2 separate regions of the Homo sapiens genome follow, and region 1 is linked to region 2. Evidence: promoter capture Hi-C in 16 types of primary human blood cells and fetal thymus (Javierre and others, 2016). All regions are on one chromosome and are shown on one strand. The core of a region is centred on a gene start or on the middle of the fragment in contact, and the rest is flanking DNA. Distances in the headings are between cores, read along the strand shown. Region 1 holds the start of LOC107986925 (a long non-coding RNA gene). Region 2 holds the start of PDLIM2 (PDZ and LIM domain 2).

Region 1 (5,859 bases), core at 3,283-5,782, 170 kb after region 2:
GGCACATCCACACGCATGTGCACACACGTGCAGGCACACACCCGGGCAGGGAGGTGTGAGGAAGGGAGACCAATGAGCCTGTGCCAAGCTCTGCTTACAGATCTCCCCAGATCTGGAGAGAAAAGGGGAGCCCTTCTCCAAGAGGGGGCTGCGCTCAGGCTGCTAGGGTATGATGATGGCTCCAAGCCTGTGGCTGAGGTTGGATGGACCATTGAGAGGAGCCCTCCAGGGTGAGGGGACAGAAGCCCATCAGTCCGTATTGATGGAATGTGGCTACAGTGTGGAGAGAAGAAGATACTTTCTCTTCCTGCCCCAGAAGGTACCCAAGCCTCCGGGATGCTGGGTCACAGAACCCGCCTGGCAGAGAGTTGCATCAGAGCGAAACTGCATGCTAGATGCCTGAGGGGAGAGGGCACTGAGGACTTGTGATCCTAATTTCCCAACCTTCAGCTGCTCAGGGTCAAGTCCTTAGGCTCCACTTGCTCTTCTCCCCTCCCCAGCATTCTTCTGTACTAGGTTGCACATGATGAGGGTGGTCTGAGGGGAGAACAAGGAGGGGGTGTGACTCAGAGTTCACCCGGCTGTCAGCAGCCCTGAGTCAGAGGGAGGGTGGGGAGGTGGGTGGAACAGCTTTTGGTAGTCTTGGGGTTCCCTATAAGCAAGAGCATCCCAGAAAAATAGAAGAGAGCCCCCCAGAAGCTACGAGGCTCCCACATGCAGGGTAGGCCTTTTCTCGGCCACCACTACACACCCCAGGAGAACAGGAGAGGCCTCCACGAGTCCTGGATGATTTAGGTGCGGACTTGCCTGGGGGAAGGGTGTTGGCCCAGAGGACCCCTTGGGTACCTCTGAACTCTGGGATTCTGCAGAGAGGCCTCACCACATCAATGCTTTTTGCTCTGTGTACCCAGATGGGTCTGTGGAGAATTTGGGGGGTTCCACTGCTGGGACTGGGGAGATGACAATCTGGGGTCAGGGGACTGAGGTGGGTGTGGGATGTGGGAACAGGAGGGGTGTCCCATAGCACCAGTGGAGCTTCTGCATCTGCTTCAGGGCTCTTGTTTTCCTGGAAGTAGGAAGGAGAGTGGGGATGGCTGGAAAGTTCTGAAAATTGCTTTTTGCTTATGTATGGTCTTGGCAAAGAAGCTGTGGGGTGTGTTCCTTCTTTATCATAGCTGGCAGCCCTGACTTCCCATAATACAATGATTGGGAGGCTGAGGCCTGGTTACTTGGTGCTTCCTCCACGTGTCTCTGTAGACCTCTCTGCAGCTCTTCTTGTTTTAGCTCCGTAGGCAAGACATCCCATTGATGTAATGTCAGCCTAGGAGCACAACTGTCTTCCCGGGCTCACGGCCTCCACCTACCCAGCTAGAGCTGGAGAGCCATGCCCTCCCCAGGCCCTGCATCTCCTCCCTCCCTGGTCAGGGGTGTCACCAGCAAGGGCACGGCCACCAAACACAGCCTGTGGATCAGCTCTCTGAGATGGCCCTCGTTTGCTCACTGTCTGAACAGAGCATTTCCTTTCCTTCCCTTCCTGTGAGCAGATTCCCCATCCAGGTGGGTAGCTGCGGCCAGCTATGCAGGCACCAATGAGCTGCAAGGGAGGTCAGCCACCCTTTAGCCAGGTCCACCCCCTGCCTTTTACAGAGGAGCAAATTCAGGGCCACGGCATCCATAGGACCAGTCACGGGCAGCAGTGTGGATCTACAACCCACCTCTCCTGATTCTCAGTTTGTCATTCTTTTTTTTTTTTTTTTTTGAGATGGAGTTTCGCTCTTGTTGCCCAGCCTGGAATGCAATGGCACGATGTTGTCTCACTGGAACCTCTGCCTCCTAGGTTCAAGCGATTCTCCTGCCTCAGCCTCCTAGGTAGCTGGGATTACAGGCATGTGCCACCATGTGGGGCTAATTTTGTATTTTTAGTAAAGACGGGGTTTCTCCGTGTTGGTCAGGTTGGTCTCGAACTCCCGACCTCATGTGATCCGCCTGCCTCGGCCTCCCAAAGTGCTGGGATTACAGGCGTGAGCCACCGCACCCAGCCTTTCTTTCTTTTTTGAGACTGAGTCTCGCTCCATTGCCCAGGCTGGAGTGCAGTGGTGTGATCTTGGCTCACTGCAACCTCCACCTCGCGGGTTCAAGCAATTCTCCTGCCTCAGCCTCCTGAGTAGCTGGGATTACAGGTGCCTGCCACCACGCCCAGCTAATTTTTGTATTTTTAGTAGAGACGGGGTTTCACCACTTTGGTCAGGCTGGTCTCAAACCCCTGACCTTGTGATCCACCCGCTGTGGCCTCCCAAAGTGCTGGGATTACAGGCGTGAGCCACCGCGCCCAGCCAGTTTGTGATTCTTTATGATACATTAATGCTTTCATTTTCCTAGGGGCTTGGATGTGCATGGGGCTGGAATTGGAAAAAATTTATCTGGGCAGAATTTTTTCTTCTTCCAAAATCAAGGTGGATGGTTCTGGGCACATGGCTGGTGCTTTTTAGGTACTTGTTGATCTGCCCGTTGGGGTAACTCCTGTTTCACCTTCTATGGGAAGGAAGGGAATATCCCGTGGGAGTTTGTTTTTTTTCCTTGACTATTCTCATCCTTGTGATTGCATTCTGGCTGGGCAGTTAGAAAGGAGGGGGTCAGATGGGCCACTTCCCCATCCCTAGGGTCAAGCTTCACTCTCTCTCAGCTCCCTCTCGGAACTAAGACCTGAGCAAAGGGGTCAGTCTGTACAGTGCAGCCACCCTGACTGACTGTTAGAGAAATAAACAAGATGTTATTGTGCCGAGGGGAGAAGAGTTACATCAAAAGTATCTCAGAGAGGAAGAAAGCCAAATTTCTTTTTATATGAGATGCATGGATAGGGGGAGAGAGAGAGAAAAAAATGCCTGGGTAATTAACTTAATAGGTTTCTTAAAGAATGCCCTTGTGAGTGATGTTCAACACATTCAAGTGTTGACAAGAAGGCATTGAACTTGACGCCCACGCAGCGGGCAGAAGCATGCTCTCGGCTCCAACACACCTTCTTTGTCTGAAACTTGTGGTAAGACTCAGTGCTGGGTTGTGAAATCTGTCCCAGGGAATCCGTGCTGCAGGAGCTCCAAGGTCAAGCCCCGTGCTTCTGGATAGGGTTGGGGCTGGCAAGGGTGACCACTCGGAACTAAGATCCCACGAGTAGGAGAGCAGAGGAAGAGGCCCTCAAGTCAGACACCTAGAGATGCTGCCATGCCTGGGAGAGACCCGTGAGCTCTAGGGCTCCCAAGACAACCTGCCACTCTTGGGGGTGGTCGGAACAAACCTCTGCTTCTTCCCTGCAAATCCTGGTTGCCTTGGGAAACTTGGGTCTGATGTCCAGGAACACGTGTGAGACCCTAGGTCTTCCCTATCTTGATGAACTAAGGGAGGAATCTAGGTGAATGTATCAATGTGGATTTTCCCTTTCTCCTAAATCGGTGGTAGATAGAGAGGCCCCAAATCATTGCTGGGCTGCTGAAACAGGAGGCTTTGACTTGGATAAGGAGGAGTGTGTCTGTGTGTGTGTGTGTGTGTGTCTGTGTGTGTGTGTGTGTCTCTGTGTGTGTGTGTGTGTGTGTGTGTGTTGTGCGTCTATATATTTGTATTTACAGAACATTTTGGGTTGCTCTTGACTGAAACCACAAGAAGCATAAATCACTGTTCCTAAAACAAAGCAGTCTCCTCTGCCAGGCAGCCTGCCTCAGAGGCCCCAGATGTGGATGGGGCCCTTGGCCTCTGCCTGTTGCTGGCAGATCAGCCTGCCTTCCCATTGTCAGTCACCCACTCTTCTCATCACCAGCCACCCACTCAACCACCCTCTCTTTCTTTTTGTTTCTTTTTTGAGGCAGGGTCTCATTTTGGCACTGAGGCTGGAATGCAGTGGTTTGATCATAGCGCACTGCAGCCTTGGCCTGCTGGGCTCAGGCAATCCTCCTACCTCAGCCTCCCGAGTAGCTAGGACTACAGGCACACACCACCATGCCTGGCTAATTTTTTTAAAAAGTTTTATATTTTATAGAGTTGGAGTCTTGCTGTTTCCCAGGTTGGTCTCGAACTCACTCCTGGCCTCAAGCAGTCCTCCCACCTTGGCCTCCCAAAGTGCTGGGATCACAGGCGTGAGCCACCCTGTCTGGTCCCATCCTCCCTGTCTGTTACATTAGGCTCAGGCTTATCAGGAGATGGGTGTTTTCAGGCTGGGACCTGAATCTCAGGGTCTCTGTCACAACCATAGTGGCCAGATTTGTAAAATGGATAAAAAAGGTGACATGAATGCCTTTGTGAAAGAACTTCTCTTTCTTAGATACTTTACCAAATAAAGCAAACTAAGTCTACGGTTGCCTGGCCATAGACCCTGTGGAAGCTCACTTTAAGGGAGCAATCCAAAAGGCCCAAATCCACACCCTTGGTTAACGGGTTTCCAGCCTGGGAGAAGGACCTGCACTGCCTCTCACCCAAAGTCATATACCAAGACTGCGCGTGTCTGTGTATGCCGTGGGGAGAGTGGGGTGAACTAGAAATGCTCCTCATTTACAATCAGTCATCGTGGAAGGGAATCTCCTCTTGCAACCAGAAAGTCTGGGCTAGCTCTCTGCTCCTGTTATTGGCCCCAGCCCTTGTTCTGGGGGCTCATTTCTGCCTGCAGCAGCTGGTTCCCACCAAGGCAATGCCATTATTCTGGAGAGGCAGGATTCCAGAATTTGCATAAACTCCTAGGGCATTTCTGTTTCTAGGAAAAGGGAAGAGGTCGTCATCTTTCTGCCTAACTCCCCATGCATTAGGACATGATAGTCAAGAAAAGGCTGTGGGCTTAGCTGGGGATGCCCGTTAATTTTACAGTCCAATTTCTCCTTCCTTCACCACCCCATCCCTTCTCCAGGCTGGAGACGTATTCCTGCTATGTCTCCTCTTTTCCCCATTGCCCAAGTTGAGTTTCCTAAGGGCAAATGGAGCAGGTTAATCAGATTCCTCACTTGCCTGTTTGGCCCAGGTGTGTGGTCAGGGAAGTATCCTGGTAGCTTAGTTCAGCGCACATTGATCGAGTGCCTACCAGGTGCAGAGACAGGGCTGGGTACTACAGGGGATACAAAAATTAATAGTCTCACTGTTAATAATTCCTGCCTTTAAGGAGTGTTCATTCCATGGGAACCACACAGCTGCCTGCACCATCCCTATATTCTTAGAGAATAGATGCTCCCTGCTCAGGAGTCAGGAGGGAGCTGTGAGCATCCCAGAGACAAGCAGGTTTCCAGAAACTATCTCTCAGTAATGCAGAACCCACCTTCCAGCATCGAAACTGGGGGCCGCATGAACTTTGACAAGGAGACAACAATCAAGGTGGGACAGATTTGTGCCTCAAACTCTCTTGAAAATATAATTTTCTTCCCTTGGATATAGCTGGCTCGAGTGAAGCAGCCTTCTTTTAATCTTGACAAAATAATGAAATCAGATCAGTGATATTGGCGTGTTTCATGTGGACACATGATGCTGGGAGAACTTCAGAGCTAGGCAGCTCCCACAACTGCCAAGAGACTGAAGCTGAACTTCAAGGCAGAGTCCTCCAGAGTGGCTTAGGCAAAGTCTCCACCTTGCTGAAGCCCTTCCTGGTCCACCACTCCTTGTGGAGGAGAGGGGAAGGTGGGAGCCAGGGTCTGGGGCTTTGCCGGGCTGGTGGCCGCCTCAACATTGGCTTTGGGATGAATCTCAGGACCAGACTTCCCCGCCCTTGTGTGGGAGGTGTGAGGGGCTGGAGCTGGGAGGCAGGAAGTGAGCGCAGATGGGCTACCGCCTGGACAGCTGTGCGGGGAACAGAGCACATCTGTCTGGGTGTGAGTGGGGCCCCTCCCCACAACC
Region 2 (5,546 bases), core at 1-2,500:
GTGAGCGCGCCCACCTGCGCCTCTCCGCGCGGCCCGCCCTCCCCGGCGCCGGGCTCCTCTCCGCGCCCCTGTCGGCGCGGAACCCTGGCCTCGTCCGCGGCCCAGCTCCCTGGAGCCTCGCATCAGCGGGGGCGCCCCCGCGAGCTGCGCTCTCCCCGGCCGGAGCGCTCCTCCTCCAGCCCCCAGCCCGCAGGGTACTTTGCCCTCGGAGCGAAGGAGGCTCCAGAACTGGTAGAGCCGGGCCATCGGGCTGGGCACCTCCCCGCGGCGCCCGCAGCGCGGAGTCCACTGACCGGCTCAAAGGTCTGGGAATCTCGGGGCGGCCGCGAGCCGGCCTCGGGGACTGGGGTGGGGGCGGTGCTGGGAACAGAGGCTAGGCCTGGGCCCAAGGGGAAGGCAGCCGGGGATGGAGCGGACAGACCGCTGGTGCTCTTGATAGATTCTCGCAGCACTTGCGTCCCCAGGGCAGCCCCAGGATGGGTGCTGGGCAGGGTGGTGCCCAGCCTGGCACCGCGGCTTCCTGCCTGGATTGGCTCCTGGCTCCAGAGCTAGAGGCTCAGGAAATCCCACAGGGGTCTGTCTGCAAGGGCACTTCCTTGCCCAGCGGAGGGGCTGTGGATGGGAGGCCTGTCACCCCGGCTGTCTGTCGGGCAGCATCAGGAATCTGGGGGTGGGTGTGTCCAGCTTGACAGATGAACCCTGGCCTCCTTGCCCTGGCAGCCGGCCCCTGGGGGAGGTGGGGAGCCCGGTCTTGCCCGTGTGATCCACTTTGCCAAGAACGAGGTGGGCAGCTAGGAGGCCCATGTGAAGACTCGGCCTCACCCCACCAGTCCTTCACCTGGCCAGTGACTTACACAGTCTGTACTGGTGCCAGCCTGTTCCTTGACCCGTCACTCCTGCTTCCTGAGCCCTGCTCTCCCTAGGCCACTCACCAGCCCTCCCCCAGAGTGGAGAGGAAGTACCGTGTGCTGTGGGTTTTGGGGACAGGAAGCAAGCGCTAGTGGGACTGAGCCCTGATGGTGGAGGAGGGGAGACTGAGGGGGTGCTGGCATCCCCTCCACTTGCCAGCCCCTGCCCCCCATGCTCCAGCAAGCCCCCTGCCTGGCAGCCTGGGCAGCCCCCTCCTGGGAGTCGCTCCCTGGGCTGAAGACTAAGGAAGGGAGAACCCAGAAGCATGGCTTCCCAGGGTGGGGGGAAGTGAAACCGGGCTGAGGGAGGGAGTTAGCCACTTCCTCTACCCACCCCAAAGCCCCTGAGTAGCTGCTCCGGGAGCTGTGGTGCCCTCTCCTTCTCCCTTTGGCTCCTCTCCTGCTGCCTTACAGTGCCCCCAGAGCCGGCTAGGGGCATGGACTTCACCTCCTGGTCCTCTCTTCCTCAGGTATGGCGTTGACGGTGGATGTGGCCGGGCCAGCGCCCTGGGGCTTCCGTATCACAGGGGGCAGGGATTTCCACACGCCCATCATGGTGACTAAGGTAAGGATGGTGGCTCAAAGAGATGAGAAGGTCCTGCCAGAAGCGAGGTCGGCCCTGTTCACCCCACTCTGCACAGATGGCTTGCTTTTTCTGTTCTGGAGCTAGGGATCTGCTGCTGCCTGGCGTGCTGGCTGTAAGGGAGCCGTGGCCCTTTGCCACGGGGATGTGGTGGCCACTTCAGGAACAGACCTTGGGAGTGAAAGGGAGCTGGGACCAGGACAGGGCCGGCTCTTGCCTCCCCAGTTGCTATCCCCACACTTGCAGGCAGCCATTTGGGGTGATTACTAGAACAAGAGCCCCGGAGTTCTTGGCAGTCTCCTCTTGACCTGGGCCCAGGCTGGGAACATTCACAGGAGGGCTGTGCAGGCAGCCACCTGCAAGGTGCGATTTGCACGGGCAAGGCTCTCTATCCAAAAGTATTTCCAAGCACAGTTCCTGAAATTCTGCCACTGCACATTCTTTGGGAGGCCCATTAGAATGCCAGTGTGGGGTGGGGGCTGCCACCTGCGCTCCTGGAGGGGATGGCTGATCAGCTGGGTGTCATGAGCAGGCAGAGGGACATGCAGGAGGGTGCAGGCCGGCCTGGGTCAAGCCAGCCTCTGTGTTTCTTGGGTAGCAGAGTGGGAAGTCCCTTCTCCAGCTGGGCCACGGTCTGAGCATGCCAGCTCCTCATCCCTACAGGTGGCCGAGCGGGGCAAAGCCAAGGACGCTGACCTCCGGCCTGGAGACATAATCGTGGCCATCAACGGGGAAAGCGCGGAGGGCATGCTGCATGCCGAGGCCCAGAGCAAGATCCGCCAGAGCCCCTCGCCCCTGCGGCTGCAGCTGGACCGGTAGGGCCTCCCGCTCTGCAGAGCCTGTGGCATTCCCCCTCCTCCACCACCCCACGTATTGAGCAGCCCTTGCTCCTGCCCATGGGCTAGAGCTCAGCCCTAAAGCGGCCTTCTTGGGCCCTCTCCACACCTTGGTGAGAAGGTCCTGGGCTCTGCTTCCTGCAGCAGGGTGGGCTGAGGGGTGTTCCCATGCCTGGTTGGGTAAAGGTGGGCGCCAGGCTGGGCGTGCAGTCACAGGCTGGGCAGGGCGAGCTGGCACCAGCCACCTTGAAGCCCGGGTTTGACTGGTTCCCAAGAGTGTGCAGGGCACAGGGCGTGGGCATGAAGTGGGTTGAAGAGGGGAACCTTCTGGGAAAGGTATGCCCGAGGCTGCATCCCCAGGACTCCTGCTTCCAACAGGGCATGGCCTTTGTTTAGTTCCCAGCTGGAAGTGAGGACTTGGGGGGCTCATTCCTCATAGAGGCTGTCTGTTCCTCCCCATCACTGAAGGCAGATGCCCGATCCTGGGTTACTCCTAGGGTTTTGAGCCTATAAGCCAAGGTGGGGCCAGGGTGGGGCCTGGAGGCCAAGCTATAGGGGGAACAGGTGGCTCCCTGGGGTGGGGCATTGCAGTGAGTCACAGATCGGGAATGCCAGGAGATCCCCGAGCCAGGAGAGCCCTCTGCACGGGCCTAGAACCTGAGTCAGACACCTCTTGCATCCTGGCCACCCCCACATTGTCCTGCTCTCTTCAGCCCTACCAAGCCCCTCCTTCTCCAACTGCCCTGCCCTGTGGTGTGGCAGAAGCCGGCTCCCTTCATGTCATTCAGGTCCCTGGGTGTTTGCAGGAGCGGGACCCCAAGAAGGAGGGTAGAGAGCACCTCATGGCATCTGGGAATGGGGCAGAAAGCTACAGGAGGCTGAGGGTCTGGCAGCGGAAGGGCAGGAGCCTCGGACTGTCTCTTCCTCTGGGGTTCTCTGGAGGGACCAGGGCTCGGGGGAGGTAGGCCTGGGCTGTAAGTCAGGCCTCTGGTTCTGCACCAGGCAAGCCCAGACTCCAGTCTCTTAATTTTTTTTTTTTTTTTTTTTTTGAGACAGAGTCTCGCTCTGTTGCCAGGCTGGAGTGCAGTAGCGTGATCTCGGCTCACTGCCACCTCTGCCTCCCGGGTTCAAGAGAGTCTCCTGACTCAGCCTCCTGAGTACCTGGGACTACAGGCGCGTGCCACCACGCCCAGCTAATTTTTGTATTTTTAGTAGAGATGGGGTTTCACCACGTTGGCCAGGATGGTCTCGATCTCCTGACCTCGTGATCCACTTGCCTCAGCCTCCCAAAGTGCTGGGATTACAGGTATTACACCGCGCCCGGCCCAGTCTCCTTACTTTTGCTGACGTGATGCCCACCCCCCCCCCCGCCCCCATCTCCCGCCTCCTACCCTCCCAGGTGACCTCTCTGGTATTCAGAAGCCCTGGGGCAGGAAGCAGGGCTCCAGGCTGGAGCCAGAGACTGAGCTCTCCTCACCCTGATCCCATGGCTCTCCCAGGAAGCGGAGGGTCCTGTTGCCCTACATCTCTAGAGGCAGCCTCACGGCCAGGAATGTGTGGCAAGATGGGACGAGGCAGGCTGTCCCTCAGCCCAGACTTCAGTTACCTCCCATTCAGGGCTCCAGCTGGGTTCCACTTTGGAAGAGGGTACCCAGGGAGCTGGGAGGGCGTGCCCCTCTCGCTGGTGGGGAGCTGGGCCTACTTGTCTGGAAGGAGGCAGGCGGGTCTCGCCCTTTGTTTAACTGGGGAGACCCCTGAGAAAGGGATCAGGAGTGACGCGCTCAAAGGCACCCTGGCCTCCAGTGGGCAGGGTGCACAGCTGGCCCAGTCACCGTGGGCTCTAGAACTTGAGGCAGCTCACTTTCCCTCTCTGGGTTTCAGTTTCTCCATGGGTTAAAATATAAAGGATTATTTCTATGAAATCAGTAATCAGGCCGGGCGCAGTGGCTCACACCTGTAATTTCAGCATTTTGGGAGGCCGAGTCGGGCGGATCACCTGAGGTCAGGAGTTCAAGACCAGCCTGGCCAATACGGCGAAACCCCGTCTCTACTGAAAATACAAAAATTAGCCGGGCATGCTAGTGGGCACCTGTAGTCCCAGCTACCTGGGGGGCTGAGGCAGGGAGAATTGCTTGAACCCAGGAGGTGGAGGTTGCAGTGAGCCGAGATTGCACCACTGCGCTCCAGCCTGGGTGACAGAGCGAGACTCCATCTCAAAAAACAAAAAAATCAGTAATCTTCCCCCAAATCAATCTACAAACCCGAGGCTGAGTGATATCAGTGACAAAGTCCAGGCAAAATAGAAAAAAAAAAAAAAAAAAAAAAAAAAAAAAGGGCAGGATAATGTGAGGACTCTCTAATAAAACTGAATGTTTGAACTTTCTGATGAAGTTATGTACGTTCTACTTTTTAGAACCAAACTATCCTTTCTTTTTTTGGGGTGGGTTTTGCTGTTGTTACTGTCGTTTGAGATGGAGTCTCACTCTGTCGCCCAGCCTGGAGTGCAGTGGTACAATTTTGGCTCACTGTAACCTCTGCCTCCCTGGGTCAAGCAATTCTCCTGCCTCAGCCTCCCAAGTAGCTGGTGTTACAGGCATGCGTCACTATGGCTTGGCTAAATTTTTTTTTTTTTTTTTTTAATTAGAGATGGGGTTTCACCTTGTTGATGACCAGGCTGGTCTGGAACTCCTAACTTCAAGAGATTCACCCTCCTTGGCCTCCCAAAGTGCTGGGATTACAGGCGTGAGCCACCGTGCCCGGCCTTGGTGTTTTTTTGAGACAGAATCTCGCTGTGTTGCCCAGGCTGGAAGGCAGTGGCACAATCACGGCTCACTACAACCTCCATCTCCTGGGCTCAAGCGATCCTCCCACCTCAACCTCCCAAGTAGCTGGGACTACCGGCATGCACCACCATGTGCAGCTACTTAAAAAAAAATTTTAGTAGTCATGAGGTCTTCCTATGTTGCCCAGGCTGGTCTTGAACTCTTGGGCTCAAGTGATCCTCCTGCCTTGGCTTCCCAAAGCGTTGGGATGATAGGCGTGGGTCAATGTGCCTGGCCAACTGTCCTTTCTTTTAAGGAACCATGGTTGTCATTGATGATAGTTGTTTGTCTTGAGTTTGACAAAGTTAAAAGTTGACAACCGGATGTCCAAATTTTCTGTAGCTTTTACTGGTGTTGAGAACTAGATCTGGGAACAGTTTTGGCCTCTTTTGGGGGT

What was found. Contacts are between HindIII fragments. The CHiCAGO score rates a contact against its expected background, and 5 or more counts as called.
Region 1: a fragment that was not itself captured here is called in contact with the fragment with the promoter of PDLIM2 in region 2 in 3 of 17 cell types (naive CD4 T cells, naive B cells and activated CD4 T cells); the score reaches 7.5 in naive CD4 T cells.

The regions. Positions count from the first base shown.
Region 1 is chr8:22,748,065-22,753,923 of GRCh38, forward strand. All of the region lies in intron 4 of PEBP4 (phosphatidylethanolamine binding protein 4), which reads right to left. It overlaps LOC107986925 (a long non-coding RNA gene), which reads left to right and starts at 1,742. Exons shown (of 3, transcript XR_007060852.1): 1 at 1,742-5,859. LOC124901908 (a long non-coding RNA gene) reads left to right here. Exons shown (of 3, transcript XR_007060855.1): 3 at 1-1,714. The HindIII fragment of the contact is 3,734 bases long and covers 2,666-5,859 here.
Region 2 is chr8:22,579,225-22,584,770 of GRCh38, forward strand. It overlaps PDLIM2 (PDZ and LIM domain 2), which reads left to right and starts at 1,251. Exons shown (of 9, transcript NM_001368120.1): 1 at 1,251-1,473; 2 at 2,155-2,306. The coding sequence starts at 1,381. RefSeq lists silencers at 38-107, 208-297, 308-467, 1,198-1,287, 2,852-3,146 and enhancers at 2,485-3,177, 5,452-5,546. The HindIII fragment of the contact is 20,077 bases long and covers 1-5,546 here.